Linked DNA regions of Homo sapiens: all the other regions are linked to region 1. Evidence: promoter capture Hi-C in 16 types of primary human blood cells and fetal thymus (Javierre and others, 2016). All regions are on one chromosome and are shown on one strand. Each heading gives the region's core, a stretch centred on a gene start or on the middle of the fragment in contact. The rest is flanking DNA. Distances are from core to core; before and after follow the strand shown. Region 1 holds the start of BIN2 (bridging integrator 2). Region 2 overlaps ATF1 (activating transcription factor 1). Region 3 holds the start of TMPRSS12 (transmembrane serine protease 12). Region 4 overlaps TMPRSS12 (transmembrane serine protease 12). Region 5 holds the start of TMT1A (thiol methyltransferase 1A). Region 6 overlaps CSRNP2 (cysteine and serine rich nuclear protein 2).

The links. Contacts are between HindIII fragments. The CHiCAGO score rates a contact against its expected background, and 5 or more counts as called.
Region 2: a contact is called between a fragment that was not itself captured here and the fragment with the promoter of BIN2 in region 1, in 1 of 17 cell types (activated CD4 T cells). The highest score is 5.2, in activated CD4 T cells.
Region 3: a contact is called between the fragment with the promoter of TMPRSS12 here and the fragment with the promoter of BIN2 in region 1, in 13 of 17 cell types (endothelial precursors, fetal thymus, monocytes and 10 more). The highest score is 16.3, in endothelial precursors.
Region 4: a fragment that was not itself captured here is called in contact with the fragment with the promoter of BIN2 in region 1 in 1 of 17 cell types (endothelial precursors); the score reaches 5.1 in endothelial precursors.
Region 5: a contact is called between the fragment with the promoter of TMT1A here and the fragment with the promoter of BIN2 in region 1, in 9 of 17 cell types (fetal thymus, total B cells, M2 macrophages and 6 more). The highest score is 12.4, in fetal thymus.
Region 6: a contact is called between a fragment that was not itself captured here and the fragment with the promoter of BIN2 in region 1, in 7 of 17 cell types (endothelial precursors, M0 macrophages, naive CD4 T cells and 4 more). The highest score is 6.7, in endothelial precursors.

What each region holds. Positions count from the first base shown.
Region 1 is chr12:51,322,334-51,326,439 of GRCh38, forward strand. It overlaps BIN2 (bridging integrator 2), which reads right to left and starts at 1,841. Exons shown (of 13, transcript NM_016293.4): 1 at 1,689-1,841. The coding sequence starts at 1,769. LOC105369767 (a long non-coding RNA gene) reads right to left here and starts at 1,675. Exons shown (of 2, transcript XR_944957.3): 1 at 1,395-1,675; 2 at 35-870. RefSeq lists an enhancer at 1,367-1,556 and a silencer at 1,587-2,076. The HindIII fragment of the contact is 11,893 bases long and covers 1-4,106 here.
Region 2 is chr12:50,815,109-50,819,214 of GRCh38, forward strand. The region is part of intron 6 of ATF1 (activating transcription factor 1); the gene reads left to right. Among named protein-coding and RNA genes, the nearest start is that of TMPRSS12, 26 kb to the right of the region's middle. The HindIII fragment of the contact is 4,813 bases long and covers 1-4,106 here.
Region 3 is chr12:50,840,547-50,844,652 of GRCh38, forward strand. It overlaps TMPRSS12 (transmembrane serine protease 12), which reads left to right and starts at 2,380. Exons shown (of 5, transcript NM_182559.3): 1 at 2,380-2,605; 2 at 3,296-3,491. The coding sequence starts at 2,419. It also overlaps the pseudogene RN7SL519P. The HindIII fragment of the contact is 6,106 bases long and covers 1-4,106 here.
Region 4 is chr12:50,861,462-50,865,567 of GRCh38, forward strand. All of the region lies in intron 3 of TMPRSS12 (transmembrane serine protease 12), which reads left to right. Among named protein-coding and RNA genes, the nearest start is that of TMPRSS12, 21 kb to the left of the region's middle. The HindIII fragment of the contact is 506 bases long and covers 2,026-2,531 here.
Region 5 is chr12:50,922,642-50,926,747 of GRCh38, forward strand. TMT1A (thiol methyltransferase 1A) reads left to right here and starts at 2,374. Exons shown (of 2, transcript NM_014033.4): 1 at 2,374-2,895. The coding sequence starts at 2,398. RefSeq lists enhancers at 1,488-1,697, 2,711-3,254. The HindIII fragment of the contact is 3,129 bases long and covers 333-3,461 here.
Region 6 is chr12:51,060,401-51,064,506 of GRCh38, forward strand. It overlaps CSRNP2 (cysteine and serine rich nuclear protein 2), which reads right to left. Exons shown (of 5, transcript NM_030809.3): 5 at 805-4,106. The coding sequence ends at 3,346. LETMD1 (LETM1 domain containing 1) reads left to right here. Exons shown (of 9, transcript NM_015416.5): 9 at 1-24. Among named protein-coding and RNA genes, the nearest start is that of LETMD1, 14 kb to the left of the region's middle. The HindIII fragment of the contact is 1,613 bases long and covers 1,484-3,096 here.

The sequences.
Region 1 (4,106 bases), core at 591-3,090:
AGGCTAGATGAAGACAGAAGATGCAAGAGTGAAATACAATCAATTGTATGTCTTTTATTTTTATGTATTTATTTTTATTTTTTGAGACAGAGTCTCCCTCTGCTTGAGTGTGGTGTGGTGTGATCACTGCTCACTGCAGTCTTGATCTCCTGGGCTCAAGCAGTCCTCCCACCTTGGCCTCCCAAAGTGCTGGGATTACAGGAGTGAGCCACTGTGCCTGGCTGGTATGTCTTTTTAAAATTACTATCATTCATGAGTGTTTTGTCTTTTAGGGTTTTTTTTTTTTTCAACCACAGTGTGGCCTTCTCTCCAGTACCTCCTGCTCGCCCACACTGTTTCGAGCTAGACCTTCCCATAGGCCCTGCTCTCGGGTCTACCAGATTTGTAAGTCTTCAGAGAGGCTGAAACTAGGATCAAGGTGAAGTTAGGGTAAGTGAAGTAACGAAGTCTGGCTACACGAACTCTTTCCCTTTTCCTCCTCTCTTTCACATGACCTCAAATGATAGAAAATAACCTCCCTTCCATTGTGGTCTCTTAAAGTCAGGAGCTACATCTACATTCCATCAGTTTTCTGCTGATAAATCAACTCGGGAGAGCTGGTTGCCTTTAAGCCTTCCCAGGGCTCAAAGCAGTGCTCCACTTTTAGAAGATAATAGGGATATTTCAGTTGGTAAGCAGAGCTGTTCATCCAAATGCTTCTAAGTCCATCAGCTCTTAGAAAACCAAAACTTCTCCGTTGTAGAAGGCAGGTTGGGCTTAATAAAGAGAGAGAGAAAAAAAGGAAAACCGAAACTCTATCTCAGGTCCTTCTTGTCTTTCTTCCCTCGCTCTTTCTTCTGGCTGACATGTCTTCCCAAACCGCCTTGTCTACTAGAGGGTTGGTAGGTGGAGAGCAGAGGCTCAGGTTAGAAGCAAAGAAAATATTCTGTACAGGTAGAAACAAAAATGCCATCAAAATGTGTAGAGAATGTCCCCACAATTTAGATTGCCAAGCAAGTAATAGATGGGCAGCCCACCTAAGTGCCAGTGCTGGAGCAGGGCTACCTGACACTAACCAAGGACACACTCTGAACACAGATGTGGTTCATCACCCTGGGAGGTGTACTCCCCAACGCCAAAGGGAGGGTAGAAGAAGCAGATTTGGGCTCCTGCTTACGTCAGCTGAAACACCACCCAGAGGCCAGGCAGGGTCAGGTAGGGGGAGAACTATGCAGGATTATTCTAAGCCTTTGGTGGGGGGTGCCTGCTGGCATCCGCTGCATCGCTGTTTTTGGGGAAATTGCCCTCTATGGAAAATTACCCTCCAATTTCATCATCTGTAAAATACCAATTTTGGATTGCTAGCACAAAATTTGATACAAAGGTGGCCACCACCATCACTTCCTTTCTTTCACCTTTTCTGGGTCAGCCTGAGGGTTGTCGAAGGTTCTGCCCAGAGACTGTTGTCTCCCCAGCTTCCCTTATCCTTGCCCAAGATCGGGTGGCGGTCTCCGACCTCTCTCCAATCTGCCAGTTTTCATGGAAGCCCACTCCTCGCTCCCGTTTCCCTGGGAGAGCGGGAGACCCTTCTCGTCAGCCCAGACCCTTCGGGGCCCCTGAGCACCCTGCCCGCCCCTCCTGCCCGGCCGGGCTCGGCCTCGGCCTCGGCTCCCTGTGGGCCAGACAGACAGCGAGGCCCGGCCACCTACCTTCTCCTGGGCCCTGCTAAACTTCTTCTGCACCTGCTTGGCGAAGAGGCCGGCCGCGCCGCCTGCCTTGCCCTCTGCCATCCTGCCAACTCCCTGGGGGCCGCCGCCCTGGCCCCGCGCCCTGTGGTTTTCTGAGGCCCCCGAGGAGGAAGTGCGGGCTCCCGGCATGCCTCGCATCCGGCCCCAGCCCTGAGCCACCTCAGGCCGCCCCTGGCCAGCCCTGAGGCCCGCCCCTCAGCCCACCACTGTCAGCTGGAGCAGGCCGGCTCGGAGGGGCGGGCCCGGGGCCTACCCTCAGGCAGCGCTCGCTCGAGGCCAGCTTCCGAGCTCCAACCCCTGCCCGAAACCTCGGCCTCACTGAACCAGGTCCTCAGTGGTGGGCCCACACTCACTCGCTCCGGAAAGCCAGTTCCCATCACGCTGAGCACTGCAAAGCAACTGCCACCGCAGGGTAGAAAATGATGTGGGTTCCACTCAGCGAGAGGACCTACCATATCGAAAACACGTTTAGGTTCTCTGAGTATGCATGCGAAGCCGCCATGTACACTGCGTTTCTTGCTCCAGGTAGGCTCTAAGCCTGGAACTGGTAGGGATAGAGTGCAGAAAGCAGGCAGGACACCCGAGCCGGGCTTGAAAGAGAGAAACAGGCCGGGCGCGGTGGCTCACGCCTGTAATCCTAGCACTTTGGGAGGCCGAGGCGGGTGGATCGCCTGAGGTTAGGAGATCAGCCTGACCAATACGGTGAAACCGCGTCGCTACTAAAAATACAAAAATTAGCTGGGTGTGGTGGCGCACGCCTGCAGTCCCAGCTACTCGAGAGGATGACGCAGGAGAATTGTTTGAACCCGGGAGGCAGAGGTTGCAGTGAGCCGAAATCGCGCCACTGCATTCCAGCCTGGGCGACAGAGCGACAGTTCGTCTCAAATAAATAAATAAATAAATAAATAAATAAATAAATAAATGAGGAACAACTAAGCTGGAGATAGAAACAGGGTAGGGGGCTGGTTCTTAGGCAAGAGAATGATCACATTGAAAAAAGGCTGAGGAGGATAGTATGGACGCCCGTGCTGAGCATGAGGAGCAAGTTTTTCTAGTTGGAGTACAGTGTACTGGATGGAGGCAGAATGTGAACACAGACACAGATTGTGCAAATTGGGGTGCGGCTGTTGAGATGACAACTATTGTTTCTTTAGGGAGAAGTTCTCCAAAAAATTCCTCCCTGACCTGTTTGAGGGGATAGCTTGAGATTAGGACACTAGGTGTGGAGGAACCACGTACTCAGATTTTACAGTGCAGGTTAAAATTTCCTCAAGGCAGGGAAGAAGGTCAAAATAACACTTCCTAAGGAGTGGAGGGGGAAGATAGGGCCTGACACAAAATTAGAGGCCCTTGTATGCTACTGTGTTCCTCTTCTTTCTCCAAAACAATCATTACTGCACTCAAGGTCAACTGTGTACCAGGCATTGCTGGGTGTTCTGAAACAAGGATGAATAAAATGCAGTCCCTGACCTTAAGATGCTTAATGAAGTCTGGCCGGGCACCACGGCTCACACCTGTAATCCCAACACTTTAGGAGGCTGAGGCAGGCAGATTGCTTGAGCCCAGGAGTTTGAGACTAGCCTGCGCAACATAGCAAGACCTTCTCTCTGCTAAAAATACAAAAATTAATTGGGCGTGGTGGCACACACCTGTAGTCCCAGCTATCAGGGAGGCTGAGGTGGGAGGATCACCCGAGCCAAGGGAGGTGGAGGCTGCAGTGAGCCCTGATGGTGCCACTGCATTCCAGCCTGGGCAAAGCGTGAGGCCCTTTCTCAACCAATAAAGAATAAGTATTAATAAATAAGTACATAAATAAAGATGCTTAAAGTCTGGAAGTGGAGATAGGTGGGTAATCAGGTGATTCTAATGTAATGTGCTTAATTTATTTGTAGAGATGGATACAAAATTTTCTGGGAATAGGTGATTAGGGTTTGTTTGTTTGTTTGTTTGTTTGGAGACAGGGTCTTGCTTTGTTGCCAGGCTGGAGTGCAGCAGTGCCATCAGGGCTCACTGCAGCCTCTACCTCCCAGGCCCAAGTGATGGTCTCACCTCAGCCTCCTGAGTAGCTGGGACTAAGGTGCGTGCATGCCACCACTCCTGGCTACCCAGGCTGATCTGGAACTCTTGAGCTCAAGCAATCCACCCGCCTCAGCCTCCCAAAGGGCTGGGATTACAGGTGTGAACCACCTTGCCCTGCCAGGCGATTAGGGTTTATTCTGGATGTTAGCTTTGGTGATGCCCTGGAAGAGGCAGGGTGATGAAAATAGAAGGACTTGATATTGGATGGGGAGAAGTGGGGAGAAGCATGGAGAATAGCAGTACTGCGGGAACACTGAGAGTAGATGGCAATGCTAACAGGTGTGTCACTGGCAGAAGGAG
Region 2 (4,106 bases), core at 1,104-3,603, 510 kb before region 1:
GAGACTCTGTCTCAAAAAAAAAAATTTTTTTAACTGTAAAACAGCCTCAAGGCAGCCCCTACAGGAGGTATTCCAGAAGAAGGCATTGTTATCATAGGAGATAACAGCTCCCTGTGTGTTATTGCCCCTAAAGACCTTCCAGTGGGATAAGGTATGGAGGTGGAAGACAATGATATTGATGATCCTGACCCTAGGCTAGTTAGCCTAGGCTAATGTTGGTGTTGGTGTCTTAATTTTTAACAAAAAAGTTCAAAAAGTAGAAAAGTTATATTTGGTTTTTGTGATTTTTTTTTTTAAGACAAGGTCTCACTGTGTCACCCACACTGGAGTGCAGTGGCACAATCTTGGCTTACTGCAACCTCTGCCTCCAGGGCTCAAGTGATCCTCCCAGCTCGGCCTCCCAAGTAGCTGAGACTACAGATGTATACCACCACACCCAGCTAATTTTTTTTTTTTTTCTTGTAGAGGTGGGGTTTTGCCATGTTGCTTAGGCTGGTCTCAGACCTGGGCTCAAGTGATCCATCCACCTGCCTCAGCCTCCCAAAGTGCTGGGATTACAGGCATGAACCACTGCACCCAGCCCCCAAAAATTTAAAATTAGCTAGTACAACCACTATGAAAACCAGTATGGAGACTTCTCAAAAAACGAAAAATAGAAATCTACCCAAAGGAAAAGAAATCAATATATCAGAGGGATACCTGTACTCATAAGTTTACTTGCAGCACTATTCACGCACAATAGCTAATAGAATCAACTATGTGTCCATCAGTGGATAAATGGATAAGAAAGAATTAAATCATGTCATTTGCAGCAACATGGATGGAATTGAAGGTCAGTATCTTAAGTGAAATAAGCCAGGCACAAAAAGAAAAAATATCACATTCTCACTTATATGTGGGAGCTAAAATATTTGAACACATGGAAGTAGAGAGTGGAAAAATAGGGCTGGGCGTGGTGGCTTATGCCTGTAATCCCAGCACTTTGGGAGGCCGAGGCGGGAGGATCACTTGAGCCTAGGAGTTCAATGCAAGCCTGGGCAACATACCCATTGCTACAAAAGATAAAAAATTAGCCAGGCATGGTGGCGTGTGCCTAAAATCCCAGCTACTCGGGAGGCTGAGGTGGGAGGATTGCTTGAGCCCAGGGGGTTGAGGCAGCATGATCGCACCACTGCACTTCAGCCTGGGCAACAGAGCAAGACCCTATCTCAAGAAAAAAGAGAGAATGGAAAAATAGGTAACAGAGACTGGGAACGGTGAGGGGCAAGGAGGAGGATGAAGAGAGTTAAAGGGTACAAACCCATACACAGTAAGATAAAAGGAATAAATTCAGTGTTTCATAGCAGAGTAGGATGACCACCCTTAACAAAAACCTATTAATACTCAGGTGATGGACACCCTGAATCCCCTGACTTGATCGCTACACATTATATACATGTAACAGATTTTCTCATGTGCTCCATAAATATGCACAGAAACATTTTAATGGAAAAAACCATACAGGCCAGGCGTGGTGGCTCACACGTGTAATCCCAGCATTTTCGGAGGCCAAGGCAGGAGGATCACTTGAGCCCAGGAGTTTGAGACCAGCCTGGGCAATATAGGGAGACCCCATCTCTAAAAAAAATTTAAAACATTAGCTAGATGTGGTAGAGGCAGGAGAATCACTTGAACCTGGAGGCAGAGGTTGCAGTGAGCCATGATCACGCCATTGTACTTCAGCCTGGGCAACAGAGCAAGACTCTTGTCTCAAAAATAAAACAAACAAAAAAAAACACACAAGTAGTTAATAATCATATAAAAGACTACTCAGCCTTATTAGTAATCAAAGAAATACACATTAATGCTACACATTTAGATACCCTTTATACCCACCCAATTGGCAAAAATTTTAAAGTCTAACCAAGAGTTGGCAAGGATTTGGAACAATGGTCAGGAATTCATAGATACTACTATAGGAGTGTAAATTGATGCAGCCATTTTGGAAATTAGGCCTTATCTTGTACAGTTGACGTGGGTATACTCTGTGACCCAGCTGTTTTAGTCTGTGTGACTGAGAGGAACTTGGAGGAAGTATGTATAAGAATTTTCATAGCAGCAAAAAATCAGGAAACAACCTCAAGATTCATTGATAACAGAATAGGTACATATTGAGCCTAAACATAAAAATGGGGGGAAAAAAGAATAGGTACATAAATTGTGACTGTATTTATAGAATGGAATGTTTATTTGTAATGACTGAATGAATAATCATTTCAACATGAATAAATCTTAGAAAAATTGAATGAAAAAACAAGTTGCAACAGAATACACAAAGTATGATATTTTATAATTTTAGAAAATAAATGATAGCAGTTTTAGGGTCATATACGTATATACTACAACTATAAAAATAAGAAATGAGATGTCACGTAGCAAAAATTATAAAGTGGTAATACTGTCTGTCATTGGGCATATAAGGAAAAGGGTACCTCACATACATTACTGAGGGAAGTACGGAGTTTTATGGTATCTACTTGCCCCAACATTTCTACTTGTATGTGACAAAAGATACCATAAAGAAACTTAAAAATAAGTCTGTTAACTGGGAAAAATATTTGCAACTTTTATATAAAGAGAAAGAATTACGAGATGTATAGGTTATATAAAGATTTATTTCTGTAAATAAGAGACCTAACAGAAGGAAACCGGTCTGTGAAAGATGGCCTTGTAAACATGAAATTATTCCAAACTTTGTGCATAATGAGGGAAATGTTAAAGCAGTGAGGTTCGCTTTTTGTCAGCCGCTAGACTGACAACCATTTTAAAATGTTCATAACAGGCACTCTCATGTACTGCCCCTGGGAATGTAAATGGTACAAATACTCTGGAGGACATTCTGGCATTTTTTCCCTTTTTTCTTTCTGGTTTGACTCTGGGATTTTTTTCCTTCCTTTTTTCCCCCCTTATTTCTCTGTACTTCAATGAATATAAATTGGCACTATCTCTTGACTTTAAGTGAATATAGCTTGTGATCCTTCAAGAAATACATGTGTAGAAATACACGTAAAGAATGGAGGCTGAGTGGGTGGCTCATGCCCATAATCCCGACACCGTGACCAGGAGTGAGACCAGCCTAGGCAACATACTGAGACCTCATCTCTACAAAAATAAAATTAGCTGGTGTGGTGGTGTACACCTGTAGTCCCAGCTACTTGAGAGGCTGAAGTGGGGATATCTTGAGTCCAGGAGGTCAAGGTTGCAATGAGCTGTGATTGTGCCACTGCACTCAGCCTGGTTGACAGAGTGAGACCCTGTCTCAAAACAAAAGAAGAAAAAAGAAAAAGAATGTTTACTGGAAACCACTTAAAACAAACAAACAAACAGAGCTTAAAGGTAAAAATAAAGTCTTTTTGTGAGGGGAAAGATTTTGTACAGTCCTTTTAAAGATGTGTACTAAAAAGCAAGTTGCAAATAGTATCTACATATATAGCATAAAAATCTTAAAATAGTACTGTTTCTTTCTTTCTTTCTTTTTCTGAGACAGAGTCTTGCTCTGTTGCCCAGGGTGGAGTGCAGTGGCGCGATCTTGGCTCACTGCAACCTCCACCTCCCAGCTTCAAGTGATCCTCCTGGGTCAGACTCCCAAGTAGCTGGGATTACAGGCATGTGCCACCACAGCTAATTTTTGTATTTTTAGTAGAGATGAGGTTTTGCCATGTTGGCCAGGCTGGTCTCGAACTCCTGACCTCAGGTGATCTGCCCGCCTTGGCCTCTTAAAGTGCTGGGATTACAGGCATGAGCCACCATGCCTGGCCAATACTTCCGATTTCTATATGTATATAAACTTACATATGACTTCACAGAAATGTTTTAAGAGGACATGCACAGAACTGAGTATTTGCTCAAGCATTGTTTGTAATTTGAACTTAAATAAAAGAAGTCATGTGTCAGAAGTTAACCAGAGGACCCATAATTTCACTCTTTGGTATTTATTCAAGAGAAATGAAACCTTTCTACAAAAAGACTGGCACAAAAACATGCCTATGCAGCTAACCCTAGAAACATCGCAAGAGACTGGATACACAAATGGTGGTTATATTCATACAGTGAACTATGTCCAGCAG
Region 3 (4,106 bases), core at 1,130-3,629, 480 kb before region 1:
TGAAGAAGTAGGCTGGGTGCGGTGGCTCACACCTGTAATCCCAACACTTTGGGAGGCTGAGGTGGATGGATTTCTTCAGGCCAGGAGTTTGAAACCAGCCTGGGCAATGTAGACCTTGTCTCTACTAAAAGAAAAAAAGTTGAGGAAGTGGAAAGTAGAAACTGTAATTGTAAACAACTTCTTGGGTGAAATTTTGCTATAGAGGAAAGTAGGGGATATAAAGTCAATTGAAGATTTTTCTAAGGTGGGAGAAACCAGATGTATTATCTGTTGCTGCGTAACAAATTATCCCAAAATGCAGTAGCTTAGAACAACAAAAATTTATCTCGTATTTTCTGTGGGTCAGAACTTTTAAGTGTAGTTTGGCTGGGTGTCTCTGACTTAAGGTCTCTCATGAGGTTGCAGTTAGGGTGTCAGCCAGCACTGTGGTCTCATCTGAAGGTGTGATCGGGGAAGATCTGCCTCTAAGCAGATCATGCGGTGTTGCATGATTCAGCTTTTCGTGGCTGTTCAACTGAGGACTTCAGTTCCTCAATGGCTCTTGCTGGCAGCCTCTCTACAGGGCCACAGGGCAGCTTACAACATGGCAGCAGCTTTACCTTAGAGCAACAGGACTGCAGAGAGTGCTCAGGACAGAAGTCACAATCTTTTTATAACCTAATCTTGAAAGTGGTAGCCCATCACCTCTACTTTCTATTTACTAGAAGTGAGTCACGAAATCCAGCCAACACTAAAGGAGAGGGAACTGACTAAGGCTGTGAATACCAGGAGACAGGGTTCATTGGCGGGCATTTTGTAGGCTACCTACCATACCAGAGGATATTTGTCTGCAGATAGGAGTGATCCCACCAAAGACAGGAAATGACAATGCAGGAGAGGAGAAAAGGCAGAGGAAATCCAGGAAGAAGACCTCTGCAGTTATTGATCCACTGCCTTTTTCATTTTATTTGGAGAGATGGGGTCTTGCTTTGTTGCCCAGGCTGGAGTACTGTGGCTATTCACAGGCATGATCTCACTACCAATCAACACAGGAATTTTGATCAACTCCATTTCCAGTCTGGGCCAGTTACCCCTCCTTAGGCAACCTGGTGGTTCCCCACTACCCGAAGGTCACCATATTGATGCCAAACTTAGTTGACCAGTTGACATAGCATACTACAGTCCAGAACTCCTGGGCTCAAGCAATCCTCCTGCCTCAGCCTCCTGAGTAGTAAAACTAAAAAATATATTGTTTAAAGCAGTGCTGTATAATAGAACTACAGGCATGTGCCACCGTGCCCAGCCCACTGCCTGTGTCACTGCTATTTGATGACTTGGCTGCATATACTTGCTTTATGAGTATGTTAAACCTCTACTATCTGTCATAGCAAGACCCGTCATCCTTATCACGTTGGCTATGGGTTTAAAAAAAGAAAAAAAAAGTCATCTTGCCTTGTTTACAAAGGCATACACAATCTGACCACATCTCACACACACAGAAATACACACACCCCAACTGTGTTTTTCTCCTCCTAATATCACCTTCCACTAAAATATCTGGGGAATAAGGACTTTGTTTCTTGTCAGCCCTCAGAGATCAGCTCATGCTGCAATTTGTTTCTCCAATATCACCTCCTCCACCCCAATTTCGGCACAGCTCTGAGACTCTGCTCCCTTCCCCACATGTTACCATGTGTAAGCCCCAAACTCATATACTCCTTTTATCTAATGCTGCCAACTGCACCAGCCTCGGAAGGATGGTATGAGCAAGGCAACTGTCCTTTTATTGACCTCTACGTTAACTCTCCACCACCTCACCAACTTCCCACAGCCCACACGGTCTTCTTATTACTGAAGGTGTTGGGTTAACAAAGGCAAAGTTCAGTATAGGTCAAGATAGGAATGACAGAACAATTTAAAACTGAACATTAGGTATCACTCTTAAAAACTCTGGGTTATGTTAAAGAAAAATTATTCAGTGATACTCATTAAAGCACAGCAAGGCAGACTTTATTCAGGACCATCCAGATAGGGATAGGGACCATGGCAATGGGATTTTGTAATGGGTAGAGGGACTGGGCTAAAATCCAAACAGAGCAGAGCCAAGGGAGAATTTACAGCCACGGAGCAGGAGAGACGTGTCAGTGGATGGAAAATTACTAAGAGGTAGCATCAGGAGTAATGGCATTCCGGCTAACCGACCTAACAGGATTCTTGCTGGACAGGCCAGGGTGATCAGACATCACCTGGGGGATAGTGGTGGATGAGGAAGCCGATCAGACCTTGAGGGTGAGGGGTTCTTTCTAAACTGACCTACCTATTCCTCGGCCGCCTCCCACACCTCCGGGCCTCACTCGCGCCTCCCCGCCAGGCCGTGCGCCCCGCGTGCCCAGGGCGGGTGGGAAGTACCTGCCGCCATCTTGCTCACCAGCCTCCAAAATGCGGCTGGGGCTCCTGAGCGTGGCGCTGTTGTTTGTGGGGAGCTCTCACTTATACTCAGACCACTACTCGCCCTCTGGAAGGCACAGGCTCGGCCCCTCGCCGGAACCGGCGGCTAGTTCCCAGCAGGCTGAGGCCGTCCGCAAGAGGCTCCGGCGGCGGAGGGAGGGAGGGGCGCATGCAGAGGGCAGTACCTGTTCGTGCCTGTCTCTGGGGAGCCTCTCTTACCTTTTCCCCACCGCTATAGTCTTTGAATTCGGGTTTCTCCTTTTCTGTTGTCCCAATGGCCTTTAACCAAAATTTTACATACCTAAGCAGTTTCTAGACCGGCTGTAATAACAGTAGTTGTAATAGTGAAATGACACATTTGTATTGTGAATCTGTATTTTCTCCTCAAAACATTCTGGGTTTTATCATCCCCATTTTATAGATTAATAAGTCAGGGGATAAAGAGTTGAAAGGGAGGGCTATTAGGTGACCATTTCATACTATAGTTGAGAAAAATTAGCCCAACAAGTGAAATGGTGAGCATTAGAATTTGCGGCTCTCGACTCACCGTTCCCAGGCTCTTTAACTGCTATTTCACACAGGGAAGAATGTGATACGTGGCCAAAAATTTTTATTTTTATATTTTTGGGGAATAGAGTTTTAAAATTAATGAATTGTGTTGACTTCATGTCTATTTGTAAGTAATCGATTATGGCATATTTGTCTTAACTCTCCAAGTTTCTTTCAAAATATGGGCGTGTCTCCGGTATGTTAGCTTGCTTTGTGTTTTTAACATAGGAATTTAAAGGATTGCATTAATATGTTCAGCTTAGGAAGTAACACATACTATAGATGCTCAGTCCAAATAATATATCATTTTTATTTTTAGATTGTGGAACAGCACCGCTTAAGGATGTGTTGCAAGGGTCTCGGATTATAGGGGGCACCGAAGCACAAGCTGGCGCATGGCCGTGGGTGGTGAGCCTGCAGATTAAATATGGCCGTGTTCTTGTTCATGTATGTGGGGGAACCCTAGTGAGAGAGAGGTGGGTCCTCACAGCTGCCCACTGCACTAAAGACGCTAGGTACGTATTCAGAACACAACTATTTTTATGCTCTTAGGGGATATTTTGAAGTGATAGAGGACCATTTAACTTCAGCCATTTTCAGCTAAGCTATGTTTGCAAATAGCCATAATGCCTTATATATAGTACAGTGTATTTGTTGAAAGGAATCCTTTATTTATTATTATTATTATTATACTTTAAGTTCTGGGGTACATGTGCAGAACGTGCAGGTTTGTTACATAGGTATACATGTCCATGGTGGTTTGCTGCACCCATCAACCCATCATCTAACTACATTAGGTATTTCTCTTAATGCTATCCCTCCCCTAGCCCCCTACCCAGGAATCCTTTATTTTTTACTTTTTTTTTTTTGAAATGGAGTGTCACTCTGTTACCCAGGCTGGAGTGCAGTGGTGCAATCTTGGCTCACTGCAACCTCCGCCTCCTGGGTTCATGCGATTCTTCTGCCTCAGCCCCCGGAGTAGCTGGAATTACAGATGCCTGCCATCATGTCCAGCTAATTTTTGTATTTTTAGTAGAAAAGGGGGTTTCACCATGTTGGCCAGGCTGGTCTTGAACTCTTAACCTCACGTGATCTGCCCGCCTCAGCCTCCCAAAGTTCTGGGATTACAG
Region 4 (4,106 bases), core at 1,029-3,528, 460 kb before region 1:
TGGGCTTTAGATTCACGGACTTAATTCTGAATCCCAGCCTGCTGCTCTGTGCTAGCTGAATGACCATGGGCATGTTATTGACTCTTTAATAATAATTAGAACAATAATAGAAGCAACTACCGTTTGTTTAGGGCCCAGTACTTAATAAAATGCTAAGCATTGCAATGCATTATCTCATTTAATACCCCCAGCAACACTACAGAAAATACTATAAAATGAATGAGTAAAATAAAGCTTAAAGAGGTTAAATAAGTTGCTTAAACTAATAAAATAACTAAACGATGAAGTCAGAATTCAAGCCCAGTTCTGCCTGTTGCAAATCTCATGTATTTCCACTGTATTATTAATATATCTTTTTTTTTTTTTTGAGAGGGAGTCTTGCTCTGTCTCCAGGCTGGAGTGCAGTGGCGCAATCTCGGCTCATTGCAACCTTTGCCTCTTGGGTTCAAGTGATTCCTCTGCCTCAGCCTCCCCAGTAGCTGGGACTACGGGCACGTGCCACCACACTCGGCTAATTTTTTGTATTTTAGTAGAGACGGGGTTTCACCATGTTGGCCAGGATGGTCTTGATCTCCTGACCTCGTGATCCACCTGCCTCGGCCTCCCAAAGTGCTGGGATTACAGGCGTGAGCCAGGTGCACCCGGCCTAATATATCATCTTTCACAATGTCATACAGTTTCATGATCTTTAAAGTGAGAGCAATGATACCCATCAGAGAGTTGTTTTGAGAATTAAATTAGTTCTCCAGCAACATGGTAGTTTACATGTACATACCAAGCTCCCCACTGAAAACTATTAAAGAGGGAGAATACATAGGTTAAGGACTCGGTGTGACGATAGAAACTTAGACAGGGAACTGGAACACGGAAGTTGACTTTGATCTTGAGGGTATTCGCCAAAATGTTAACTTTTAATATTGACTTCAGTGGTTTCATAGGCCTTGGAAGGAAATGGTTAAAGAATAAAACTTGTCCAAGTTGGGAAGTAGGGAAGACACTCCCATAAAGCTGGAGTCTGTCCCATGGCTATACTTTAAAAATGAGTCACACTCATGACCCAGCATATAATTTTTTTTTTTTTAAAGACAGAGTCTTGCTCTGTCACCCAGGCTGGAAGGTGGTGATGCGATCTCAGCTCACTGCATCTTCCGCCTCCTGGATTCAAACAATTCTTGTGCCTCAGCGTCTCCAGTAGCTGGGATTACAGAGGTGTACCACCACGCCCAGTTAATTTTTGTATTTTTAGTAGAGATGGAATTTCGCCATGTTGGCCAGGCTGGTCTCAAAACTCCTGGCCTCAAGTCATCTGCCCACCTTGGCCTCCCAAAGTGCTAGGACTACAGGCGTGAGCCCCTGCACCCGCCTTGTTCTTATATATATAGTATACTTCAAATGTGATCTAGGTAGGTTAAAAAAAAAAGGAGGGAAAAATACACATGGCTACATTAATCAAAAGAAAGCTGGATTACACGTGTAATCCTAGCACTTTGAGGGGCTGAGGTGGGAGGACTGCTTGAGGCCAGGAGTTCGAGACCAGCCTGAGCAACATAGGGAGACCTCGTCGCTAAAAAAATTAGCCAGGTATGGTAGTGCATGTCTATAGTCCCAGCTATGTGGGAGGATCACTTGAGCCCAGGAGTTCGAGGTTATGGTGAGCTATGATAGCACCACTGCACTCCAGCCTGGGTAACAGAGAAAGACCCTGTATCCAGACAAAAAAAGGAAGCTGGAATGGAAAAAAGAGAAAGTAGGAATGGCTATATAAATATCAGATAAAGTAGACTTACAGCAGAGAAGATTACAAGGATGGTGAGAGACATTACATAATAATAAAAGGCCCTCAGTCCACCAAGAAGACATAGCAATGCTAAACGTGTGTACACCAAAAAACAGACATATGGTTTCTTAAAAACATACATGTGAACATACACTTACCATATGACCCAGCAATTGTACCCCTAGATATTTATCCCAGAGAAATACAAATGTCCACACACAAAAAAACTATTTACAGATGTTCATGAAAGCTTTATTTTAAAAGCCAAAAACTAAAAACAACCAAAATGTCCTTCAATAGGAGAATGCTTAAATAAACTAGTATAGCCTTACCATAGAATATAACTAAGCAGTTAAAAGGTATGAACGATTGATAGATGCAACAAGTTAGATGGACAAGGGCATTATGTTGAGTGAAAAGAAGCCAATTTTAAAATGTCATATATGATTCCAAGTATATAACAATGAAATGACAAAATTATGCAGACAGAGAATAGATTAGTAGTTGCTAGGGTTAAGAAGGTTAGGTAGCATGAAGGAGATTTTTGTCCTGATGGAATAACTCTATGCCCTGTTTTTTTGTGGTGGTTTCATGAATCTACACACACATTGTATTAATGTCAGTCTCCAGATTTTGATACTGTATTTCAGTGACAGAGATGTAACCATTGTAGGAAACTGCATAAAATGTACACTTGACTTTTTAGTGCTATCTTTGCAACTACCAATAACTCCATAATTATTTTAAAATAAAAAGCTTTTTAAATGAACCACATATAACCAACAAATCCTCACCTCCTATCGCCATCCCCATGTTTACTGGGAAAACTGCCTAATGGAAGGGGGAAAAGCTAGAAATTCCCTCTCCCCAAAATATGTAACTATAAATACCACTCACACGGATTTGCTATCCAAAGTAACACTGAGTAGACTACAAAGCTTCAAGCTGAGAATTTAGTTTAAAACAGGTTCTAGCTTAGTAACATCCCAAGATTTGATCCTGACAACATCAAATGCAAATTATTTATATAGAAACCCAACTTCATCTAAGGCTTCAAAGAATATAACCAGATAAAGTTGCAGTGAAATCGAATGGATTACAATAAAAAGATCACAAATAATTAATATATTTAACATACATATCTAATATAATTAAATATAATAACTGAAATTAATTCAATGGGCTAAAGTTTAGAAGCACTTAAGATCCCACAGATTAAAATCAACCAAATATCAGTTCAAAGATCACCAAACACATAAGGAAACAAACCATTAATAGTGAAAGCCAACAGAAACAACAAACATATTAAGCCTCCCAAGGACTTCAGATATTAATATTTTTAGGTATAGAATAAAAAAATATGTAAATTGTTTAAAGAACTAAAAGGTAGAATTAAAAATGAGCAATAGACTATTGTTTTGTTTTGTTTTGTTTTTTTGAGACGGAGTCTTGCTCTGTCACCCAGCTGGAGTGCAGTGGCGAGATCTTGGCTCACTGCAAGCTCCACCTCCAGGGTTCACGCCATTCTCCTGCCTCAGCCTCCTGAGTAGCTGGGACTACAGGCGCCCACCACCACACCCAGCTAATTTTTTGTGTGTTTTTAGTAGAGACAGGGTTTCACCGTGTTAGCCAGGATGGTCTCGATCTCCTGACCTCGTGATCCACCCACCTCGGCCTCCTAAAGTGCTGGGATTACAGGTATGAGCCACAGGGCCCGGCCAAAAATCAGCAATAGACTATTTAGAAGGACTAGGCACTAGAATCTTTAAAAATGAAAAACGTAATTGCTAGTATTTAAAACTCATTGGATAGGCTGGGTGCGGTGGCCCATGCCTGTAATCCTAGCACTTTGGGAAGCCAAGGCAGGTGGATCACCTGAGACCAGGAGTTTGAGACCAGCCTAGCCAACATGGTGAAACCCCCAATCCACTAAAAATACAAAAAATTAGCCAGGCATGGTGGTGGGTGCCTGTAATCCCAGCTACTTGGGAGGCTGAGGCAGGAGAATCACTTGAACCAGGAGGCAGAGGTTGCAGTGAGCCAAGATCATATCTTTGCACTCCAGCCTGGGCAACGAGAGCAAGACTCTGTCTCAAAAAACAAAAACAAAACTCATTGGATAAACTAGATATCATATTAGACACAGCTGAAGAGAGGATTTGTGAACCAGAAGATATATCTGAAGGAACTTCCTAGACTGTAGCACCGAAGGGAAAAAAGAGAAAACATGAAATAAGGTATAAGAAGGATAGAATGAGAAAATCTAATATACATCTAATGTGAGTGCCAGAGAGGAAGGAATAAAGAGGATAGAGGAGAGGCAATATTC
Region 5 (4,106 bases), core at 1,124-3,623, 400 kb before region 1:
TAATGAGGTTGTCTGATTTGTAAAAGGAAATATCTATAGCTGGAGATAAATGGCAAAGTTGTCCAGCCAGGTAGGTTCCCAAAAGTATTTTAATTTTCTTAATGATTATGTCTGGGGTTACTTTGGTACTTTTCTTACAAGCAAACTTTGTGGCCATAGGCCTCTCCATTTTAAAAAGAATAATTAAATTCTCTACAAAATTACTTTCATTCTCCTTTGCTGAGGGCTTTAGAATCTTCCAGTCCTGTGGAGTTGCTCAGTTTCTTCCCTGGATCCTGTTTTCAAAAACAGACAGAAGGGCAACCCGCTCGGGTCCCCTTCCACACTGTGGAAGCTTTGTTCTTTCGCTCTTCACAATAAATCTTGCTGCTGCTCATTTAAAAAAAAAAAAAAGGAAAGGAAACAGGCCACAGACAGAAAACAGGCCACTGATTGCCTCAGGATTAGGAATGCAGAAGGGAGGATCACAATGGAGCAAGAGTAATCTTTTAGGGGTGATGGATATGTTCATTTATCTTGGCTGAAGTGATGGGTTCACAGGTATATAGATATGTCAAAACTTATCAAACTGTACACATTAAATATGTAAAGTTTATTATATGTCAATTCCACCTAAAAAAATCTGTTAAAAATGGAATAGATACAATATTTATAAAATACATGCAGGTTATAACAAATCATGAAACAACAGAACACTCCCTGTATCCATCACCCAGTTTTTTAAAGTAAATGTTTACTATTTTTAAAAAATTATTTTTTTCTGTGTTCCCTAGCCACCCTAAAGCTCAGGCCTTTTTCTTTTTCTTCTTTCTTTTTTTTTTTTTTTTTTTTAAAGAGATAGAGTCTCACTATGTTGCCCAGACAGGATTTGAATTCCTGGGCTCAAGGTATGCTTCTGTCTTAGCTCCTCAGTAGCTGAGACCATGGGCACCCACCACTGTGCCCAGATTCGGGCTTTCTTGTAAAAAGCGGATGGATGCTTGAAACTATTTTCTGAATCCCTTTGGCTCCCAAATGTGAATATTCTGGGAAATATTTTTATCCAAATTAGCTGAGTAATCGAGTAGTTAGGCACATTTTGAAGACTGAGGCTTGTCCTTTAAAAGAAGGGCAGCCCACAAACTGACTTCCTTGAGCCAAAAATTGTTTTAAAAGGGGAAGTACAGCCCAAAACAGTGATTTTAAAATATCAACAAAAAGAGTCAAATTCTGTAAAATATTTAAAGAGATTTATTCTGAGCCAAATATGAGTGACCATGTCCTGTGACACAGCCCTCGGGAAATCCTGAGAACATGTGCCCAAGGTGGTCAGGGTACAGCTTGGTTTTCTACATTTTAGGGAGACATGAGGCTTCAATCAAATACATTTAAGAAATACATTGGTTCAGTCCAGAAAGGCAGGACAACCCGACGCGAGGCAGGGAGCTTCCAGGTTATAGGTACGTTTTAAATTTTTCTGGTTGACAATTGGTTGAGTTTATCTAAAGACCTGGGATCAATAGAAAGGAAATGTCTGGGTTGCAATAAGAGTTGTGGAGACTGAAGTTTTATTATGCAGATGAAGCCTCCAAGTAGCAGGCTTCAGAGAGAATAGATTGTAAATGTACTTAAGGTCTGCGTTGATGTGAATGCCGGCTTGAGGTATAATGAGGCATATCTGACCCCCACTTCCCCTCATGGCCTGAAACAATCTCTCAAGTTAAATTTTAAAAGCGCCCTGGCCAAGGAGAAAGTCCATTCAGATGGTTAGAGGCCTTAGAACATTATTTTTGGTTTACAAAAACGTTGAGTTGTGAACACTGAGAGCCTCTGCCCAGAATGTAAAAGAGAGAATTCTTGCTGACTGTGGCCGGGCATGCATGTCCTTTCACTTCCTTTTTTTTTTTTTAAAAAAAAAAAAAAAAAAAAAAAAAACAGGGTTTGGGCGGGGGAAGTAAGGGGGATGTGTTATGATAAAGGGGCCTTGGCAGCACTCTTCTGGTGTGGTTTGACCAGGCTCCACCCACGAATTCTGTTTTCTTTTAGAGGTCACTGGAGAGCCCGGTGGGGTGTAAGTACACTGCGCTTATAAAACTCTAGCAGGAAGCTAGCAGCTGTCTCCAAACCCAGAGAAGGGGAAACAGGAATCGATTAGGAATAAAGGATTATAATCCACTTTCCTTCTGAGGAAAAGCTGGGAACCTTCTCATTTTGCCTTATGAAAACTAAGCTGAATCGACTGCTGCCAAACATCTATTAGGCAAAATTGGCCTCTTGCCCATGATTTGACTTTCCAGCACAGCCAGTTCTTTTTCTCCTCTGCAGCTGATTGGCTCTGGAGTGTGGCCAGAAGCCTCTCTCCTGCAATTAAAGGAGTCGGGTCTCTAACTGTTGATCTGTTTTTTTCCCTTCTGAGCAATGGAGCTTACCATCTTTATCCTGAGACTGGCCATTTACATCCTGACATTTCCCTTGTACCTGCTGAACTTTCTGGGCTTGTGGAGCTGGATATGCAAAAAATGGTTCCCCTACTTCTTGGTGAGGTTCACTGTGATATACAACGAACAGATGGCAAGCAAGAAGCGGGAGCTCTTCAGTAACCTGCAGGAGTTTGCGGGCCCCTCCGGGAAACTCTCCCTGCTGGAAGTGGGCTGTGGCACGGGGGCCAACTTCAAGTTCTACCCACCTGGGTGCAGGGTGACCTGTATTGACCCCAACCCCAACTTTGAGAAGTTTTTGATCAAGAGCATTGCAGAGAACCGACACCTGCAGTTTGAGCGCTTTGTGGTAGCTGCCGGGGAGAACATGCACCAGGTGGCTGATGGCTCTGTGGATGTGGTGGTCTGCACCCTGGTGCTGTGCTCTGTGAAGAACCAGGAGCGGATTCTCCGCGAGGTGTGCAGAGTGCTGAGACCGGTGAGTGAAAGGGTGTGAGGAGGACTAGTTAGTAGCAGCTATTATCATAGAGGGCAGGCCTGTCAATTTCAGGTGGCTGAAACATTTTAACATAAAAAGTAAACTACTAGAAAATACTGTAGAATTTTTTAAAATTTTAGCGTGGGAGAGAAGCTATAAAGAGAAAGATTGATAAATCTGAATATAAAAACTTAAAACTGCTATAAAGAAAAAACCTCCTGGCCGGGCACAGTGGTTCACGTCTGTAATCCCAGCATTTTGGGAGGCCAAGGCAGGCAGATCGCTTGAGGTCAGGAGTTCGAGACCAGACTGACCAATATGGTGAAACCCCATCTCTATTAAAAATACAAAAATTAGCCAGGCATGGTGGCAGGTGCCTGTAGGCAGGAGAATCGCTTGAACCTGGTGGGGCAGAGGTTAAAGTGAGCCAAGATTGCACCACAGCACTCCAGCCTAGGCAACAGAGTGAAACTCCATCTCAAAAAAAAAAAAAAAAAAAAAAAGAAAGAAAGAAAAAAAAGAATAAGAAAAAAAAACTCCCCAAAACAAAGTTAAACTACAAAACAAGCTTGGAAAAAATATTTGCCAGGGATGATAGACAAAGGGTTAACTTCCCTCATGTTAAAAGACATTACATGTCAATAAGATCAATATTTTTCAATAAGAAAAACAAAAGGGAAAATGGGCAAATAACAGGAACAGAAATGTAAACCAATTATAGGACAAAAGTGCTCAAACTTAAAGAGTTAATTAAAGGAGATACTAATTTTACCTATTATACTGTTAGGGACTTCTTTTAAGGTCAGTATAGGGTTGGGGTGGGTTTAGGGGACTGGACACCACCATACACATTAGAAGAGGTACCCTCTTTGGGTGGTATCTGATAATATCAAAATTTAAACCACACATACTCTTTTATCCACATGCAAAAACTTGTCCATACACAAGAATATTAAGTAGAATTTGTAATTGCACAAACTGGAAATAACTGAAATGTCTATCAATAGGATGCTATGTAAGTGAGTTGTCATATTGTATAAAGGAACACTGTGCAGCTGTCAGAAAGAACAAGAAGAGTTATCTGTGCTGATACTTAAAAATCCCCAAGGGATAATGTTTAATGAAAACAAAAAGCAATCAAGCCACAGAATGTTAGGTAGAGCGTAGGCCCACCACATGCCCATTGTGTGAGGCAGGGAGAGGAGATACAT
Region 6 (4,106 bases), core at 1,040-3,539, 260 kb before region 1:
CTTGAAACCTGTTGATGGAAATGACTTATGCATACTCTAATCATTTTGCTGTCTCCTTTTACAAGACTGACATAATCTAACAAATGGGGATTTAATTGGTTGGCATAGAACCTTCTGATGGGATGGAAGTTTTGCAGAAACTGATTTGAAGTTGATCTCCTTGCTGGACACTTTAAGGTGATAACAAGGAAAAGAGAATTTCATAAAGTTAATGGAATGAGGCCGGGCGCGGCGGCTCACGCCTGTAATCCCAGCACTTTGGGAGGCTGAGGCGAGCGGATCACAAGGTCAGGAGATCAAGACCATCCTGGCTAACACGGTGAAACCCCGTCTCAACTAAAATAGCAAAAAATTAGCCAGGCGTGGTGGTGGGCGCCTGTAGTCCCAGCTACTCAGGAGGCTGAGGCAGGAGAATGGCGTGAACCCGGGAGGCGGAGCTTGCAGTGAGCCGAGATTACGACACTGCACTCCAGTCTGGGCGACAGAATGAGATTCTGTCTCAAAAAAAAAAAAAAAAAAAAAGTTAATGGAATGAGAAAATGGGAGCCCAGAGTAGGGACAGGGCTAAGCTCCAACAGAGCAGGAGCAAGGCCTGCTTCAGCTGAACAGGTACACAAGGGCATATGAACCAAGTCCAGCTCTTGGTACTCCAAAGAGAATATTCTATTTTTCCATCACAAAATGTTTCTATTGTTAACATTAATTCCTAACTGACCTAATTAGTTTTATAACGAAGCTAGAGAAGCATCCTTTTTCTAACAAGTAACTGAACTGTGGCCTGCCGAGACAAAGAGTAACACATCATTCTTTTGAATATTTCTTTAATATTACATTTAAATATTCTCTTTAAATACAGCATTATCACAATGTAAAGAACCTAAAGGGGAAAAAATTATTTTCAGAGAACCAGACAAGCTTTGGATTCACATTGAAAATACTACCTGTGTACAGTATGTGAGAAAGGAAATTGGAAAATAATAAGGGTTGTGGTAATAAGAGTCATTTATCTAGGCCTAGACTGGGACTGAAGCTATCTGCTTCTATGATCAGAGGCCTAGCTTTCCTAGCAACCATGAGCTAGAATTCTGTCCAACTCAGGTAGCACCAGAAGTGAGATGGACTAGGTTGTAGAGAAGGCCTTTCGCTTGACAAGACAGTTAATGCTAAATGTTAATATTTAGCACTTAAAAGTTTGGGATCAGTGTGAGTCACAACTGTAGCGTTAATGAAGGGGATGGACTTAAATTAAGAAACTACAGGTTTTCAGAAACATATCTTGTGGGTTGGCAATGAGCTTAATAATTACAGATTCATATTCCTGGTTTGATCCCAAAAGCTAATGTGTTCCTCATCGTGCAGCTGGAATCTACTTCCTAGATTAAGCCGGAGCCTTCCTGCAGAGACAGTGGGCAAACCTCACCCTCCCCTTCCGACACAAACTTTGAAAAAGATTCTTTTCTCCATAAAGCCAAATTCCCAATTAAGCTTCAGTCCTGTGTTTGAGGGTACCAGTCTAAGGTAGGGGAGTCTAGTTCAGTTCTGGGTAGCTTCGAGAGCTCAGGTACTTAAAAGACTCTCAACTGTGTTTTGTGAGGCTAGGGGATGGGGAGAGATAAGGATCTGTGTACTTAAGTTCCCCTCCAAACTAAAACCAAGCAAAAACTGGAACAAATAGGAAAGGCAGAATGAACTAAAAAATGTTATGTGTATTAAATACAAATCTTTTCAGGCTCAGAGTTTAGAGACTTCAGGGGTGAAATGCTGCTGCGACATACGTGATGGTTTCTGTAAGACACCAGGGCCTTAATATCCCACCAGAAAAGGCTTTATGAGCAAGATAAGTAGGAGTAGTGTCTCCCCCCCAACACAGTTTTTCACTTTTGTGTGTGTGTGTGGTTAATAAACCATACCAGAAGTAAAGTATGGTGTAAAGGATGCTTGAGAAGAATAGTTTTGCTCCCTACTGCCTCCATTTTAGAACAGAGACAAAGATCACTTTGCTAATGAAAGGAAATCAGTGCTGTTCAATGGAGATCTTAGAACACAGGATGAACAGGAACTGTATTCCTCCTGACAGAGGTAAGAACTGAATCAAACTGAATGAGTTCCATTCTATACGCTTCAAAGGTTATAATTAGAACTTGAATCCTTTGGAATCTGGGAGTTGCATGTAGCATTTAAGAACTGGTTTGGCTTCCAATTTTTATATATCATCAAGATGGAGGGGTCCAATAAACATTTGCAATTCTTGGAATTGAACTGGAACAGTATAAGAACTCTAACCCGCTATGTTGAAAACGACCATGAGGGTAGATCCAGGAAAAAAGAACAAAAACTGATTGGTGACCTTAAGATTGCCACATTCTACATTCCACTAAAGCTCAGATCTCACAAAGAGGGAAAAACCTGGGTGAAAAAACAAGCATGGCACAAATATGTCATCTTTCCAGATAGCAAGCAGCCTGTTCCCGCTGCCTCCTTTGGCCACAGTTAATGCTCCACATAGGCCTCCTATGGGATGGGTGAGCCCCAGCCGAAAGCTGCCTGACAGTGCTAGTGTCAGACACGTACAGAAGGCTCAGGCTCGTTATACCATATCCCCAGCCAATCCAGCTCTTTCTCCGAAGGAAAAAGGATGGAGAGAAAAAAGACACATAGACAAGTTTAACTCTAGTACTTAAGAACATGTGGAAGAAACAATTCAAGTTACAGACCAGGAATCCCCAGTGTGGGGAACAGGTCAGAGAACACCAAACATGTCAAATATTAACTTATTTACCAAATATGGGATTGAAGGAAGGCAGGTTACATTTTTGTAAATCCTGGAGATTTTGTACAGAAGCAGAGACCCTTCCACTCCCTCCTCCCTAGACTCGACCAGGTGACTTTCCAGTTTGAAGTATTATGACACACCAAAATGGGATATCAGAATAACCACCGAGAAAAATGAGCTTGTACTCTGCCTGGGGCTTGGGAGAGAAAGGGCTTTGCCATGCTCTTCAAATTCTCGTGTTCTGGTCCCTACAGAAAGAATAGCTGCTTGAGTTACCCAGCTTTTCCTGTGAGATCCTAGTTCTTTGTTCCAGTGGCCCAGAAAGCTTAATGTTCAGCACTACGCAGCTTTCTTTGCCCCAAGACTATCCCCAGATCAAGGTAGGGCTGGTCTCCTTGGTACTGTTTCCCTTTTAAAAAATACTCAAACAATCCTTTCCCACCCATTCCCCAAAGACCCCAATAAAATAACATGGGAGCAGCAGCTGCTTCTACAGTTTTGTTTTGAAATGGTGTTAGATAAAATAAGGGAATAAATAGAGAATGGGTAAGAGGCAGGACCTCTAGCGCCTGTCACACTGCCAGAGGGAGTTCTAAGGAAGAATCTTCAGGGGGCCGATCCTCATTCTGCTGGGAGGTCTTCACCATCCCACAGCCCTCTTCATTGTCCGTGCGGAAGGGGAGGCTTGAGGGGGACCAGGAAGGGTGGAAGTCTTCATTTTCAGGCTCCTCAGGGTTACAATCTTCGGGCAATAGAGCTTCTAGGGTGGGTGTTTTCCCCACCTCTGATTTACAGAGGGCAGCTGGGTCTGTGGAGCTACAAGCCACGAGTGAGGTAACAGGGAGAGAGAAGACATTCAGATCCTTCTCCTTTGGGAAAGAGGCTGAGCCTTCTTCCGTACCAGGCTCTCCTTTCACTCCCAAGACTGGCCTCTGCTCCACTTGATAATAGACCAGGGGCCCACTGTTCAAGTAGGATGGGCTGTTCACCGTTGAGGCAGTTGGGTGGTCTGAGTTCTCGGTAAAACACAGGACAGAGGAGCCTGGGGGCAGCTGAGCCTGGATGAGAATGGGGGCTGTAAGGCCTGGGCACAGCTCTTCGGGGACAGCCAGAGGCTCCTCTAGGATGCACACACCCAGGCTCTCGATGCTCGAGTCCAGGCTGGCACTAGAGCCGCTGGAATCTTCTTCTGCCTTGAGCCGCTCCAGTTCCTCTGCACTCTGCAGGTGCATCACTGCTGTCTCATTCTCAGCAATGAACTCCTGGAAGTCCTGGGTCTCAGAGCCCTGTGCTCCTGTCAGGCTGCAACTGGCAGTCGGGGAGGGCTCCTCAT